Regions from separate parts of the Homo sapiens genome. Here all the other regions are linked to region 2. Evidence: promoter capture Hi-C in human tissues and cell types (Jung and others, 2019). All regions are on one chromosome and are shown on one strand. The core of a region is centred on a gene start or on the middle of the fragment in contact, and the rest is flanking DNA. Distances in the headings are between cores, read along the strand shown. Region 1 has its middle 44 kb from the start of MIR4696. Region 2 holds the start of CHRDL2 (chordin like 2). Region 3 overlaps RNF169 (ring finger protein 169).

What was found. The method cuts DNA at HindIII sites, captures the fragments that hold promoters and counts their contacts. A contact is called where the count stands out against the background at its distance.
Region 1: a contact is called between a fragment that was not itself captured here and the fragment with the promoter of CHRDL2 in region 2, in 4 of the 25 tissues and cell types used here (IMR-90 fibroblasts, bladder, neural progenitor cells and 1 more).
Region 3: a fragment that was not itself captured here is called in contact with the fragment with the promoter of CHRDL2 in region 2 in 1 of the 25 tissues and cell types used here (mesenchymal stem cells).

What each region holds. Positions count from the first base shown.
Region 1 is chr11:74,673,511-74,678,264 of GRCh38, reverse strand. No RefSeq gene overlaps it. Among named protein-coding and RNA genes, the nearest start is that of MIR4696, 44 kb to the left of the region's middle. The HindIII fragment of the contact is 7,509 bases long and covers 1-4,754 here.
Region 2 is chr11:74,729,188-74,733,561 of GRCh38, reverse strand. It overlaps CHRDL2 (chordin like 2), which reads left to right and starts at 2,136. Exons shown (of 11, transcript NM_001278473.3): 1 at 2,136-2,755. The coding sequence starts at 2,674. The HindIII fragment of the contact is 7,141 bases long and covers 1-4,374 here.
Region 3 is chr11:74,776,549-74,781,451 of GRCh38, reverse strand. The region is part of intron 1 of RNF169 (ring finger protein 169); the gene reads right to left. Among named protein-coding and RNA genes, the nearest start is that of RNF169, 30 kb to the right of the region's middle. The HindIII fragment of the contact is 4,103 bases long and covers 473-4,575 here.

The sequences.
Region 1 (4,754 bases), core at 2,195-4,694, 57 kb after region 2:
GGTGCAGTGGCTCATGCCTGTAATACCAACATTTTGGGAGGCCGAGGCAGGAGGATGGCTTGAGGACAAAAGTTCAAGACCGGTCTGGGCAACATAGTGAGACCCTGTCTCTACAAACATTTTTAAAAAAATTGCCAGGCATGGTGGCACGTTCCTGTAGTCCCAGCTGCTTGGGAGGCCAAGGTGGGAGGATCAATTGAGCCCCGGAGATAAAGGCTGCAGTGAGCCATGATCATGCCACAGCACTCAAGCCTGGGTGACAGAGTGAGACCCTGTCTCAAAAAAATAAATACATAAATAATAAAAAATAAGAAAAGACTATGTGTTCCATATTTGACAGGTTAGAGAGAATAAATCCCCTCACCTTTGACCCTTCATGAAGTCGAGATGGGAGGCTTAGCAAGGTCTAAGGAACTAGGTGCAGCTCAAGGTGTTGGCAACAGAGCCCAGCGTGAGCCCAGGGCATCTATGGGAGTCACACAGCTGCCATCTACCATGGGTAAATGTGTGCGTCAGCCTCTGGGCTGGGTACTCTCCCTGCACTGTCCCATTTCATCTGCACATGGAATGCTATTGTTATCCAGTGTTACAGATGAAGCTATGGTGGCTCAGGGAGGTTTAGTGACTTGCCTAGGGTTGCACGACTAGTTCTTGATGGAGCTGGGCGTCAATCTGCAGCCCTTTGAGTGAAGATCAAATTCTTCATCTGGCATTCAAGAACCTTTTGCAGGATGACCTCAAAAGCATCAACCAGACTGGTCTCCCTCCTCACCATACAAGCAGCTGTTTCCTCCTGTCTGGAAGGAGTGGGCTTCGGATGATCTCTAGGACCTCGCCAGCCCTAACACTCTTCCCCTGAATGAAGCAGCTGCAAGGCTTTCTCCCACCCACCATGCCCCGGAGATCCCATATGCTCCAGATGAAACAGCAGCAGTGACCAACACCACACGCTCTTACACAACACCCCAGTCTTCTCAAAGCAGGCTTCCAGGGGCGGGGGTGGGGGCATCCAGCCCTGGTGGGTGCTCACCCGTGGGAGGGGTCTCAGGAGCACTGGAATAAGAGGCAAGAACCTTGGCTTCTGGTTTTGCTCTGTTGTCCCCTCTGGATGACAGATGACATGGGGCAGATGGGTTGTCCTCTCCCAGCCGATTTCTTCAGCTGGAAAATGGGGGTGGGGAAGGGCTGCATAGGCTCTAAGTGTGATTCCAGTCCCATAATCCATGACTTTATGAATAAAATGGAAATGAAGGAATTCTTGGCATTGGTGGGAAAGATAGGGGAGCTTTAGAACCCTCGGGAAGTAGGGCCTGTGGCAGAAAGTAGAGTTGCTCTCTCCACCTGGGCCGCTGCTTGCCCATAGAAGAGGAGCTGGAGCAGAGAGGAGACGGGGATTGATGCGACAAGGCAGAGAAGCTGAGCTACAAGGAAGGGAGAGGCTGAGAAAGAGGGGGAGCACAGGCAGCACAGAGGTCAGACAGGTGGGAAGAGGGAGGGCAAGGGGACCCGCCAAACCAGGCCCACAGCTACACAGCTGGGGCAGGAACTCCCAAGGGTAGAGTGACATCACTGGGCCACCCAGCACCAAATGTGGGAAGGTGGAGCCAGTCCAAAGCTGCCTTTTTATAAGGTAATATTTTGGAACTACTAGACTGTGCCAGGGTTGGGGACCTGCTGATGTCTCTCCTGAGCTCTTCTGGTATCAAACTGTAAAATCACAGCAACATCAAGTAAGCAAAAGCAACATGCATAGAGAAAAGCCTAGAAAGACCTCCTGGCAGGGAGGAAGGAAATATACTGGGTAACAGGTATGCCAGACTTCAATAATATATAGAATATCTTATTTCTTAAGCTGGAGGGTGGGTACATGTGTGTTGATCATATTATTCTTATACTTTTTCATAAGTCAAAATACTTTATTTAAAAAAAAATCCCTGTAATATTGGGTGAATGGGAAGTTAAAAAAAAAAAAAGAAAGAGAGGATAAAAAGAAAAAAAGAAAAAAAATCCCTGAAAGGAAATTTGCTAAAATGTTATCAGTGGTTCTTTGGGAGTATGGAATTATCATGATTGTTATTATTTTCTCTTTCCTTCTGTTATTTTCCAAATGTTCTACATTCAGCAGATGTGGAAAACAATAAACCTTTAAAAATAAATAGATAATCTACGCCTGCTGTGACCATAATTTCAGTCTTCAGTGGAAATTAAACACAAGTCGTTGAGCCACTGCATCCTCATATCCATTCTCTCATAGACTCAGAGGCTCAATAAATCCCCAACCCCGCCATCATTCTCCATCTCTACCCTAAAGCTGGGCTTCTCCAAAGTAAAGCTTCTAATCCTCTTAGGCCCCTAAGCCCAACAACCCTCTAAGTACAGAGGAAATAATTCACTTTATAATAAGAAAGATTTGAGTTTGAAACTTAGATTCAATGCCTACTGGTTGGTCACTTAACCACTATAAATTGGTTTCCCTATGTGAAGACCAAATGAAATAATACATCTAAAGCATTTGGCATTAATTTACAATGCCTGGCCCACAGTAAGTGTGCAATAAATTCATCATTATCATCTTCACTATTATCATCACTGATGACTATGCCTACCACTTCCTCTAGGAAGTGTTCTTGATGCAAGAAATATTTCAGTCTGAATTGGGCACCAACCTGTCCTCCTCCTGGCAAAAGATCTAGGTTCTAGTCTCAACTCTGCTACTAGCTGTGTGACACTGGGCACATTCTTGCCCCTTTCTGCCTCAGTTTCCTCATCTGCAAAATGGAAGGCTTGAGCTTCCTGCCCTAATAGTCTGTGACTAGGGTAATCATATAATTTATTCTTCAAGCCAGAATGTTTTTGAGAGCAAAAGGGCGTACGATCACCCTCAGGATGACAGCTTGAAGCCAAGATAGTTCTAAGCACACTAGAAGTCTGGTCACCCCACCCTCAACAGATCCATTCCATTACCTGCTTGCCCACAGTGTGGTAGACAGAATAAGGACCCTCAAATGGCTGGGTGCCGTGGCTCACACCTGTAATCCCAGCAGTTTGGGAGACCGAGGCAGGCGGATCACCTGAGGTCAGGAGTTGGAAACTAGCCTGGCCAACATGGCGAAACCCCGTCTCTACTAAAAATATAAAAATTAGCTGGGCGTGGTGGTGGGCACCTGTAGTCTCAGCTACTCAGGAGACTGAGGCAGGAGAATCACTTGATCCTGGGAGGCAGAGGTTGCAGTGAGCCGAGATCACACCACTGCACTCCAGCCTGGGTGACAGAGGGAGACTCCGTCTCAAAAAAAAAAAAAAAAAGAAGATGGCAACTTCCTAGTCCCTGGAACCTGAGGATGTTAGGTCACATGGTAAAGGGAATTACAGTTGCAGATCAGCTGAACCTTGAGATGAGATTATCCCAAATTATCTAGATGAGCCCAATATAATCACAAAGATCCTTATGAACTGAGGAGGGAGACAGAAGAGGAAGTGTCAGAGGGATGCTTGTGAGAACTACCCAACCGGCCACTGGCTTTGAGAAGGGAAGGGGGCCATGAGCCAAGGAATGCGGGCAGCCTCTAGAAGCTAGAAAAGGCAAGGATATGGAGTCTCCCCTCCAGTCTCCAGAAAGGAAGGTAGACCCACTGATGCCTTGATTTTAGCCCAGTTAGGCCCACTCTGAACTTCTGACCTCAGGGCTGTAAGATAATAGATACGTGTTGTTTTAAGCCGGTAAGTGTGGTGCTTTTTTTTTTTTTTTTTTTTTTTTTTTTTTTTTTTTTTTTTTTTAGATGGAGTTTTGGTCTTGTTGCCCAGGCTGGAGTGCAGTGGCGTGATCTCAGCTCACTGCAACCTCTGCCTCCTGGGTTCAAGTGATTCTCCTGCCTCAGCCTCCCAAGTAGCTGGGGTTACAGGTGTGCACCACCACGCCCAGCTAATTTTTGTATTTTTAGTAGAGATGGAGTTTCATCACGTTGGCCAGGCTGGTCTCGAACTCCTTGACCTCAGGTGATATGCCTGCCTTGGCCTCTTAAAGTGCTGGGATTACAGGCATGAGCACCGCGCCCATGTGGTGATTTGTTACAACAGCATTTGACAATGAATATGCCCAGTTTGGCTCAGGCTAAGTGATCCCTTTGTTTCTTTTCTTCCCTGCCCCCCTCTTCTTTTCACAGGTGTTGAGTGGGTCCCTTTGGCTGGCTGCTCTATGAATGCTGTCCTTCGTGCATAAGAACTAGTCTAAGCTCCCAAAGAGCTGGATGCTAATCCCTGTCCTGATACTAACTCACCCTGGGACATTAAACAGGTCAAAAAACTCCTCTTGGGCTTTTCTCTCTGTAAATGGAGGCCTTATCTATCTTTGTGTGTGTTGGGTAGGGGGTGGGCTGACATTCAATCAACACTTACCGACTCATTCTATGTTCAGTTCTGAACTGGGGGCTGGGACACCAAGATGAACCAGATCTAGTCCCAACCCCATCCCAAGCAAGAAGTTTAAGAAGCTCCCATTCTGGATGGGGAAATGGTTATGTGAGCAGATAATTCACATGCAATGCAAGGACATAAAGATAGATGATTATGCAAGTACAGAGAGAAATATACAGGCCTACCTGCTGAGGGCATGGTCAGAGAAGGTTTCCTGGGAAAGGTGACAGCACAGCTAGGCCCTAAAGGAAGAGCAGGAGTTAGCAAAGTAGATAAGGAGGGTGGAGGAAGAGGAGGGAAGAGTAGTCCACACAGAGGTAACAGCAACAGCAGGAGCAAAA
Region 2 (4,374 bases), core at 887-3,386:
AGAGATCCAGATTAGGGGGAGGAGACCTGGTAAGAGGCTGTTGGGAAAGTTCAAGTAAGGAATGAAGATGGCCGGGTGCGGTGGCTCATGCTTGTAATCCCAGCACTTTGGGAGGCTGAGGTGAGTGGATCAGCTGAGGTCAGGAGTTCAAGACCAGCTTGGCCAACATGGCGAAACCCCATCTCTACTAAAAATACAAAAATTATAGGTGGTGCATGCCTGTAATCCCAGCTACTCGGGAGGCTGAGGCAGAAGAATCGCTTGAACCCAGAGGCAGAGGTTGCAGTGAGCCCAGATCACGCCACTGCACTCCAGCCTGGGCGACAAGCGCAAAACTCCATCTCAAAAAAAAAAAAAAAAGGAATGAAGTTGGCCTCAACTCTGGGGATAATAGGGATGGACAGGAGGGCTGAGATGGTGGAGGCCTTTTTTGAAGTATGATGGGCAGGATGTAGGGGAACCCATCTTAATCCACTTCTTACATCTAAGACATGAATATATGTGCACAGCACATTTTAAACAAAGAGAAAGGAAAAGATCACTGTCCCAAACCCTTGGGATGAGATTGTTTATGCAATTAAGCAGCACAGGATTTAACTCTGAGATCCCTGGAAGCAAAGGCAAAAAGGGAAGCATGGTGACATGCATAAGCTTGCACTATCTGTTAAAATAAAGAATACTCAGGGGAAAGGAAGAGACTGGCCAGATTAGAGTAGAAATTAAGCCTGAAGGGCACTGGACAGATCATGTTTGTCCCTGATCCTGAGAGCCCTAGGAAGGGCCAGTTTGGGGATCACTGGTTCCTCCTACTGCTCTCTTTTGGAGGGTGGAGATCTTGGGGGTAATACCCTGAAAGCACAGTGCAATGGGGAGCCCAGCCTTGGCCCAGAAAGATACCTTTACAGCCAGCCAGCCAAGTGTTTAAACCCGGAAATATGATTCCCTACCAGAGTGGGATATGGCTCAACATCCCTTCCCACCTCATACTCCTCTGGCACTCTTTGGAGTCTCCATTAGCTCTTCAAGAGAAGCTGGGCAGAAAGTTGAGGTCCAAAGCAAGGATAGATGTATTTACTCAAAGTGGCCCAACAAGTTACGGATGGAGCCAGGACAGTGACTCTGCCCTTTTGATTTCAGAGCTTGTGTGTTTCTGGTCTGGCCAGAGCTGGCTATTCTCTTCTTAGTGTCCTATTAGTGCATGTGTTCATTCAACACAAGAGATGGAGCACCATTTGAGGGCTGGAGGGTGTCAGGGCCCTGTCCTCAGGGAGCTCCCCTTCTGGTGGGAAAGAAAACTCTTTGACAATCAGCTCTCCCTAAAGATGACTGAAGGTGACCATCACTCCCAGAGAAGTGCAGGCCTCACCTGCAAAGGCAAAGGAGAGATCTTGCCTTGATTCGGGAGTGGGAGCGGGGAGCAGAGGAAGACCTCCAGGGGAAGGCACAGGATCCCTATGGGCTGACTTTCCTGAGAATGGCGCATGGGCAGACGGAGTGGGGACAGGGGCCACTGGTATTGTAGGCACCTGGAATTAGGACCCCTTCTCTTTGTGGGGTGAGTGTTTCGACGTTCATTACCTTATTTCATCTTAGCAACACTCGTGGGAAGATAGTAGAGATATTTTAAGATCTTAAAATGCCCATTTTAAAGCTGGGAAAACAGACTCTCCGGTGGCGTGCTGTAGACCACAAACTGAATTAAGAACGCCAGTGTTCTGATTCCATCCATCTGCGGAGTTCCGGGCACGCACCGCCGAGCGCCTTACCCTGAGCCTTCCCGGTACCCGCAGCCCCGACAGCTCAGCCTTCCCCACCTGAAAGTTCCACCTGAGGTCTCCCTCAACTCTGCCCTCCTGCATTCTTGGCGTCGCGGGGAGTCAGGGGTTAAACCCCGTGGCCCGCGTGGCCCCTTCCCCCTCCGCAGCCCCCTCGCCTCCACTCGGCGCCGCGCCTGGAGCGTCCGTCCCGGAGACCCGCACAAGAGAGGAGGGGAAAAAGTGGGCCTGTTTCTCGGGTGGCCAATCCACCGAGCCCGCGGTGCCCCAGAGGAGGCGCCAGCGCTAGGCCAGCGCCAGGCCGGGCTGCCTGCTTCCCGCGGCAAAGTACAAATGCGCCCGAGCGCGGCGCCTGAAGCCCTTGGCGAGCACAGCCGGCCCGCGCTCAGCCTCCCTCCGCGGCCGCCGCGCCGCCGCCGCTGCTGGGACCGCCGCCCCGCCGGGCCCCAGGCCCCCGCGGCCCGACCCCGAGCCCACCGAGCAGGGGGCGCCGGCCGCCTCTAGCCCGCGCGCCCGCAACACCCGCTGGTCCCGCGCGCCTCGCCCGGCGCTGCGCGCTCGGCAGACGCCGGTCCTCTCCCTGCTTTCTCCTCCTCTCCCTCTCACCTTCCCCCTTTCTTTGATCGCCTCTCCCTTCTGCTGGACCTTCCTTCGTCTCTCCATCTCTCCCTCCTTTCCCCGCGTTCTCTTTCCACCTTTCTCTTCTTCCCACCTTAGACCTCCCTTCCTGCCCTCCTTTCCTGCCCACCGCTGCTTCCTGGCCCTTCTCCGACCCCGCTCTAGCAGCAGACCTCCTGGGGTCTGTGGGTTGATCTGTGGCCCCTGTGCCTCCGTGTCCTTTTCGTCTCCCTTCCTCCCGACTCCGCTCCCGGACCAGCGGCCTGACCCTGGGGAAAGGATGGTTCCCGAGGTGAGGGTCCTCTCCTCCTTGCTGGGACTCGCGCTGCTCTGGTTCCCCCTGGACTCCCACGCTCGAGCCCGTAAGTAGACCGGGAGGCTGGGTGGGCAGAGGAGGGATGCGGCCCCTGGAATGTGAGGGACAGCGCCAGGACCTGGACCCCAAGCTCTTCTGACAGCCGTCCAGGCAGCACCTGTGCCGGAGGGGTGGAGACTCCGTGAGGACCAGTATGGGCCGGGGGACCGGAGGAACTCGGCACAACTCAGAACTGAGAGAGGGCTGCTGCCAGGGACCTGAGGAGGGGCACCAAGGGCAGCGGGGGGAGAGGGCAGGGCACTGTGTTTTGGGTTGGGGGAGGACTTACTGTTCCTAGGAGGGAGTCGGGTATGTCTGGCTACAGGTAAGGAGTGTGATGGAGAAGAAAAGGCTTTTTGCCTTTGGAAAGAGCCATTGGACAGAAATGAGAGGTAATTAGGATAACCTTCCCATTCTTTTCTCTCTTTTGATCCTCGCAACTCTCCAGTGAGGTGGGTATTATCATTCGCACTTTACAGATGAGAAAACTTAGGCTGAGCAAGGAGGAACTTGCTAAAACTTACAGAGCGGGTAAGCCATCCAAAGCCAGAACTCTAGTTCCAGATCCCATGCTTTATTCCCTGCCTCACATTGTCTAGAAGGAACCCTGAATTTGCAGTGTGAGACTCTGGGAGGCGGCAGGGCACAGTGAGATAGACCAGCGTCTTCACCATCCCAGCCCCGCTGAATGCCAGCTGCTGGGAGGCCGTCACAGAGTGCACCTCTCTGACCCTGGGTTTCCTAATCTATAAAGCGGAAGTAAAAATCCTAGGAGAGTTGATAGGATTAAATTAGAGAAAAGAGGTAAAGCAGCTAGCACAAGACTGGTGCTTGATAGCTTCCAAAAAAAATCAGTTCCCAATTATGCTTTTCCACATAGATACAGTGTAACATCAAACAGGTTACATCATCAATCTGAGCCTCAGTTTCCTCACTGCGCCCACAATAGGCTGGTGGTCCCCCCTCCCCATGCCCAGCCAATCTCTTAGAATGCTGTGAGGATGGAAAACCAAACCACATTCTCTTAATCAGAAGAAAGGAGCTTCATTCAAGCAGTGGGTTTCTCCAGGACATACATGGCACAGCCTGGGATTAAGACCCTGCGTTCCCAACTCCTAGTCTGGTGCTCTTTCCTCTCCCCAGCTCAGCTCCTCCATCTATGCCTTTCTTTTGCACGTGACATTCTGGAGCTGGTAGTGCTGGACTTTGTTACGGTCTTGTTTCTGCTCATGAGAGCAGGCTGAGTGTCTCTGGCCTGCCAGCAGCATGAGACTCACATAAGTCTTTCCATTACATAGAACAAGTAATGGAATTAGCTCAGTGTTGTATTCAAATCCTGGCCGTGCCCCTTAGAGCTGTGTGACTTTTTGTAAGTCATAACTTCTCTGAGCCTCAATTTCCTAATCTGTCTAAGAGAGATACTAATCCAGAACTTGCAGGGTTCTTGGGAGGATTAAAGGAGGTAACGGATTAAAGTGCCCAGCACAATGCTGTGTACTTAATAAATGTCTCTTCCGCTTTCTTGAACCCTGAGGGTTTCCTCCTAACACCTGCCTCCTATTTCTTAAAAGAGACTTTGCACAGGATGCCCTCCATGCCTGCCTCCCATCCACTTGACACCTTGTT
Region 3 (4,903 bases), core at 1,275-3,774, 48 kb before region 2:
ACACACATGGATCTATTTCTGTACTGTCTGGTTTTATTCCTCTTCTGGTCTCTGGGTTTATCTGTAGTTTTTGTTAGAATGTCATTCATTGTGTATGAAAAACTATAAAGGCCCTGGGTGATGTTATATTCCTACAGAGGATCCACCATCTTCTCTGATAGGCAGTTAGAATGAGGGGGCAGATCACTTCACAATCCAAACATGACATGAGCTGACTCAAAGACGGCTGCAGTATAAAGCTTCTACAGCTCATTCTCCCCTAGTTTGTAGCCCTCCAAGGATCCAACTGAGATCAGTGTTTCCCGAGCCTATCTTCCTTGAAAGATCATGAACTTTTTCTCCTCAACACTGGAGAACTGTTAGAGTCTGCCTTGCTTTTCAGTAGCTTTCTGTGAGGGTTCTTAGCCTTTTACCCCGCACAGTTAACAATCAGCAAACACCCTGGGAGCTAGGTAGCGGGGAAGTAGGTGGAGAGGGCAAGAGGCTATACATCTCTTCTCTTTGGGATCTTGGACCCTCAGGTTCTGGTTGCCTTGGCAGCTCTGAACTACAATTTTTGTATCCTCAGTCTCATGAAGAAAGCACCACTGACGTTTTTGCCTCTTAATAGCTGCACTCTCATTTTGCCAAGAATCCACAAATGTCTGAAATCCTGGCTGCCTTGGCAACTTACAATGCCTTCATATAGATTTTTTTAAATCAAGCTTTTCTAGTTATTCTCAACAGGAGTTTTTGTCTGCTACAATCTGCTTCATCATAGCCAGAAGCAAAATCTACATATTTCATAAGCAGTGGAGAAGATAAGATTTTCATGATGAAACTACAAGCCAAAAATTAAAACCATTTTTTAAAGTATGAAATGATGCACATCATAAGGCAAGCGTGCATACATAAGTAAATCTGAGGAAAGGAAAAAGGATCAATGAGGCTGAATTCTTAAAGGCAAGGCTTCCTGGAGGAGGTGAATTATGTTAGGCATTAAGAACAAGTACTAGTGAGGAAAAAGCCATTTCTGGCAAAGGAAACTTCACAAGCAAAGGCAGAAGTGACTATGTTGTGTCAGATAGACTGGAATAGGGTGTGTGGGCAGTAATGCTGGATAGATGAGATTTGAAGATGTAGTCACCATAGATTAAGAGAGTAAAGAGGGAATGAACAGCGAGGAAGAAAACAAAAGTAGAGAGCATTCTTTGAGAGTCAAGAAAGGGACATAATAAAAAGCAGAACATGGGTGATTCAAGTCCTAAATAAGTTTACAATCTTACAAAGAAAGGAAAAACATACTTGGGTGAAACAACTATAGAATGTCAAAAGAGTTATAAAACTAAATACCTAAGTACTGCAAGAGGTGGAGGTGCACAACAGCGAAAGGCAGGCAATGAAACAAAGCACATCTTTTACAATGAAACATATGTTAAGTGCAAAGATACACAAGAAACAAGGCAATTATCCATATTAATCTCATATTTACCTGCTTAGCCGGGCACAATAGCACATGCCTGTAGTCCCAGCTACTCAGAAGGCTAGAGTGGGAGGACTGCAAGTTTGAGGCCAACCCCAGGCAAAGTAGGGAAACCCCATCTCCAAAAAAAAGCAGCCAATCAAATTTACCTGCTGATACCATCCACTAAACCTTGAACAACCACTGTCAAATGAAGTAAGTGAAAGGAGAAACTTTAATGTTTAAAATAAATGCACCATTTAAAAGTAGTAAGGTAGAAATACAGGAGTGAACCACAAATGTATTCTAAAACCAAACTATTGTAAATAACTTTTTTTTGAGAAGAAAATCAAATCAGCTAGAATTGAACCCCCCCAAAAAATAAAATAAAATAAAAATAAAACCAAACTAAAGTGTTTCCCATTTTATCTACTATTTTTTGGTTTACTCCTTCTGATTCTCCAAGAATATAGATGATAGCCAAGTACCGACTGTCTTAAACAAATGCAATTTTCACCTACCCCCTTGCCTAAGACAAGTAACAGTTTACAACAGGCAATATAGAGTGTTTACCTGGGAACAAGAGGAAATACACAGAAAGAAAGTTGAACTGAGCTAATAAAATTTAGTATCAAATTTTAAGGCTGCTCACTTAGGTTCCATAATTTACACCACCGATTACTACTATGGTAGTAGTAGTACTACTACTACTGTGTTTTTAAACTATTCTTTGGCAAAGTACTAATCAAACAGAAATGCCACAGCCCACACAAGAACTTATGAAATGCTATGTAACATCTGATCTAGTAATTTAATTTCTAGGAATCTATCTAAGACAGTTATCTGAAATATCGCAAAACTTTTACATAAAAATATTTTCATTGCAACATTGTTAACAACTGCAAAATAAAAATCAAGAATAATTTAACTGTCCAATACTGAGAAAATGGTTAGGCTGATTATGGACAGACCATACACTTGTACTATTATTCAGTCACTAAAATTGTATACTTTTAATAATACGCAGTATTGCTTTCATAAGATGGGAAACTGCTTAAGTTAGTGAAAGATGCAAGTCACCTGTATGGTAAATGCACCTGATAGCAATAACTTCAGCATACCCTGAGAATAACCGATATGGTGGACACATCTGAATGTGTGTTCCAAGCTAGGGAATCTGGGAGTGGCCAACTCAGAAATTCATTCCTTGTCTATGAGGAACACCTGAGCCCCTGTCCAGTGGAACATGGGCCATATGGGACATAGAGGTCCTGACTTTTGAGTTGAATGAAGGGTGCCAGGTGGCGGTTGTTAGATAAAGGCTGCTACGTAAAAATACTATAGAAATTGCAGGCCTTTTGAAAGTGGCGGCAGTTCTCCCGCCCAGCCCGCCACCACTGGAGTCTCTCCCTGTATGTAAAGCCCCCAGGAAAACTCCATGTCTCGTTTACTGGCTAAGTCTCTTCTTTGGCCTCTTGAACCTGGTGCCATCCCCACTGGAGCTGATGGGGTTTGGCACAACATCACCAGATTAAGTATACCTTATAATCTCAAACAAGAAAAACCATTAAACACAGAAACAGCAATAACATACTGGAAAAAGAAACAGTGACATAATCGTAGAACTCACAAATGGAAAAAAAATTCGTGATAACATATCAAGTTATCATATGTAAATGTGTAAGAATGATAGAAACAGTCACCAGAGATTAGTAGGTTAAAGAGGGAATGAGCAATGAGGAAGAAGGGAGGTACTGCAGAACGAGAAAATATAAAAAGAAAGGCACAAAACTCTTTCCCCAAAACATTTATAATGCAGTTTATTAGCTAAGACTAAATCATAAAAAGCTTTAAAAATAGTTTTAAATAACTAGGGAGACGATGACAGATGCAATGTCACAGAATAAACAACTGCCAAATGAATCTTACAAACACACACTGCAGTTAAGAATCCACAGGAGAAAGAGAACAGGGCTGGGAAGGAGAGGCAATGCTTTCACAAGATGAGATGAAGCTGCATCTGGCCTGCTGACCGTAGTTTGCTAATCTCTGGATTAGTGAGAAAGACAAATTAAGACAGTTGAGGCTGGACGTGGTAGCTCCTGCCTGTAATCCCATCACTTTGGGAGGCCAAGGCAGGAGGATCTCTTAGACTAGCCGTTTGAGACCAGCCCAGACAACATAATGAGACTCCATCTGCACAAAAAATTAAAAATTGGCCAAGCATGGTGGTGCATATTTGTAGTCCCAGCTACTCAGGAGGCTAAGGCGGAAGGTCAAGGCTGCAGTGAGCCTTGATTGTGCCACTGCACTCCAACCTGGGCAAAAGAGCAAGACCCTGTCTCAAAAAAAAAAAAATTTAAGACAACCGAGACCAACAGGATTTGCAAAAGCAGGTATAAGAGTAGAGTCAAAGTGAATAAGGTTTCTTGTTGAATCCAGAAATGGCCCCAACAACAAGGCTTTGTTGTTAGGTAATCCGCACTGGATCAGCACAGTCAAAGCAGCAAGAGGCACATGATAAAGGAGGTCACAGAATCAAACACAGACATGGGAATGCTGCTAAGATGAAGGCTTTGGACCTTATGGCCTTTTATCCTAGGCAGACCAAGCCCATGTGGTTGTCCTCACTACCACATCTACCACCACCATGATACAAAATCCTTTGGAATTAAGTTTTGCCCTGCTTGAGGCAAAGAATTATTCCTGTTAGTCCACAAGGTAGAATGATACCAGAATTAAAAAGAATGCAGGATTTGGAACCAGACAGACCTGCAGTCACCTAGTGACTATGTGCCTACCAGTATTTATCTTTGCTAAGCCTGTTTCTTCATTCATAAAATGGGAGTAGCACTTACCTCAACACAGTTGTTTATCTCACCTAATCCTCCAATACCTACTTGGTATAGATTGTGGGCATTCAATGATAAGTAACTGGCCTCCCTGTCTCTTAGACTCTGTCTTTCCATCTATCTTTAACATTGCTTCCCTTTCTTTATGAAGAGAACTGACCCTACCACCCTTCCACTTAATAACTTTTATTGGCTTCCCACTGCCTCCAAGATTTGTAAACAGGACCCAATCTGCCACTTCAGCCAATCTTCTACTATTCCTTCAATAATCCTTTTCTCCCCAGCCCTTACACATCTCCCTATTCCTAGATATGCCATATCCTGCCTCCACTAGGACTTTATATATGCCACTTCCTCCTCCCAGAATGATTTTCTTCCCCTTTCACTATGATTTGCTATTCATACTTCAAAACCCTGTTCACTGCTCTCTCCTTTGCAGTTTTCCCACTAACCCAGAGAGAATTACATTAGCTTCCTGTAGGCCCTCATGGCATTCTGCACTTATCTCAATTGCAGTAACATTTACTACTTGTGTTATAATTACTTTACTTTGCCTCTGACTTCCTAACTTGAAGTTAGGGATGATCTCTAGGTATGTGTCTCAGTGTCA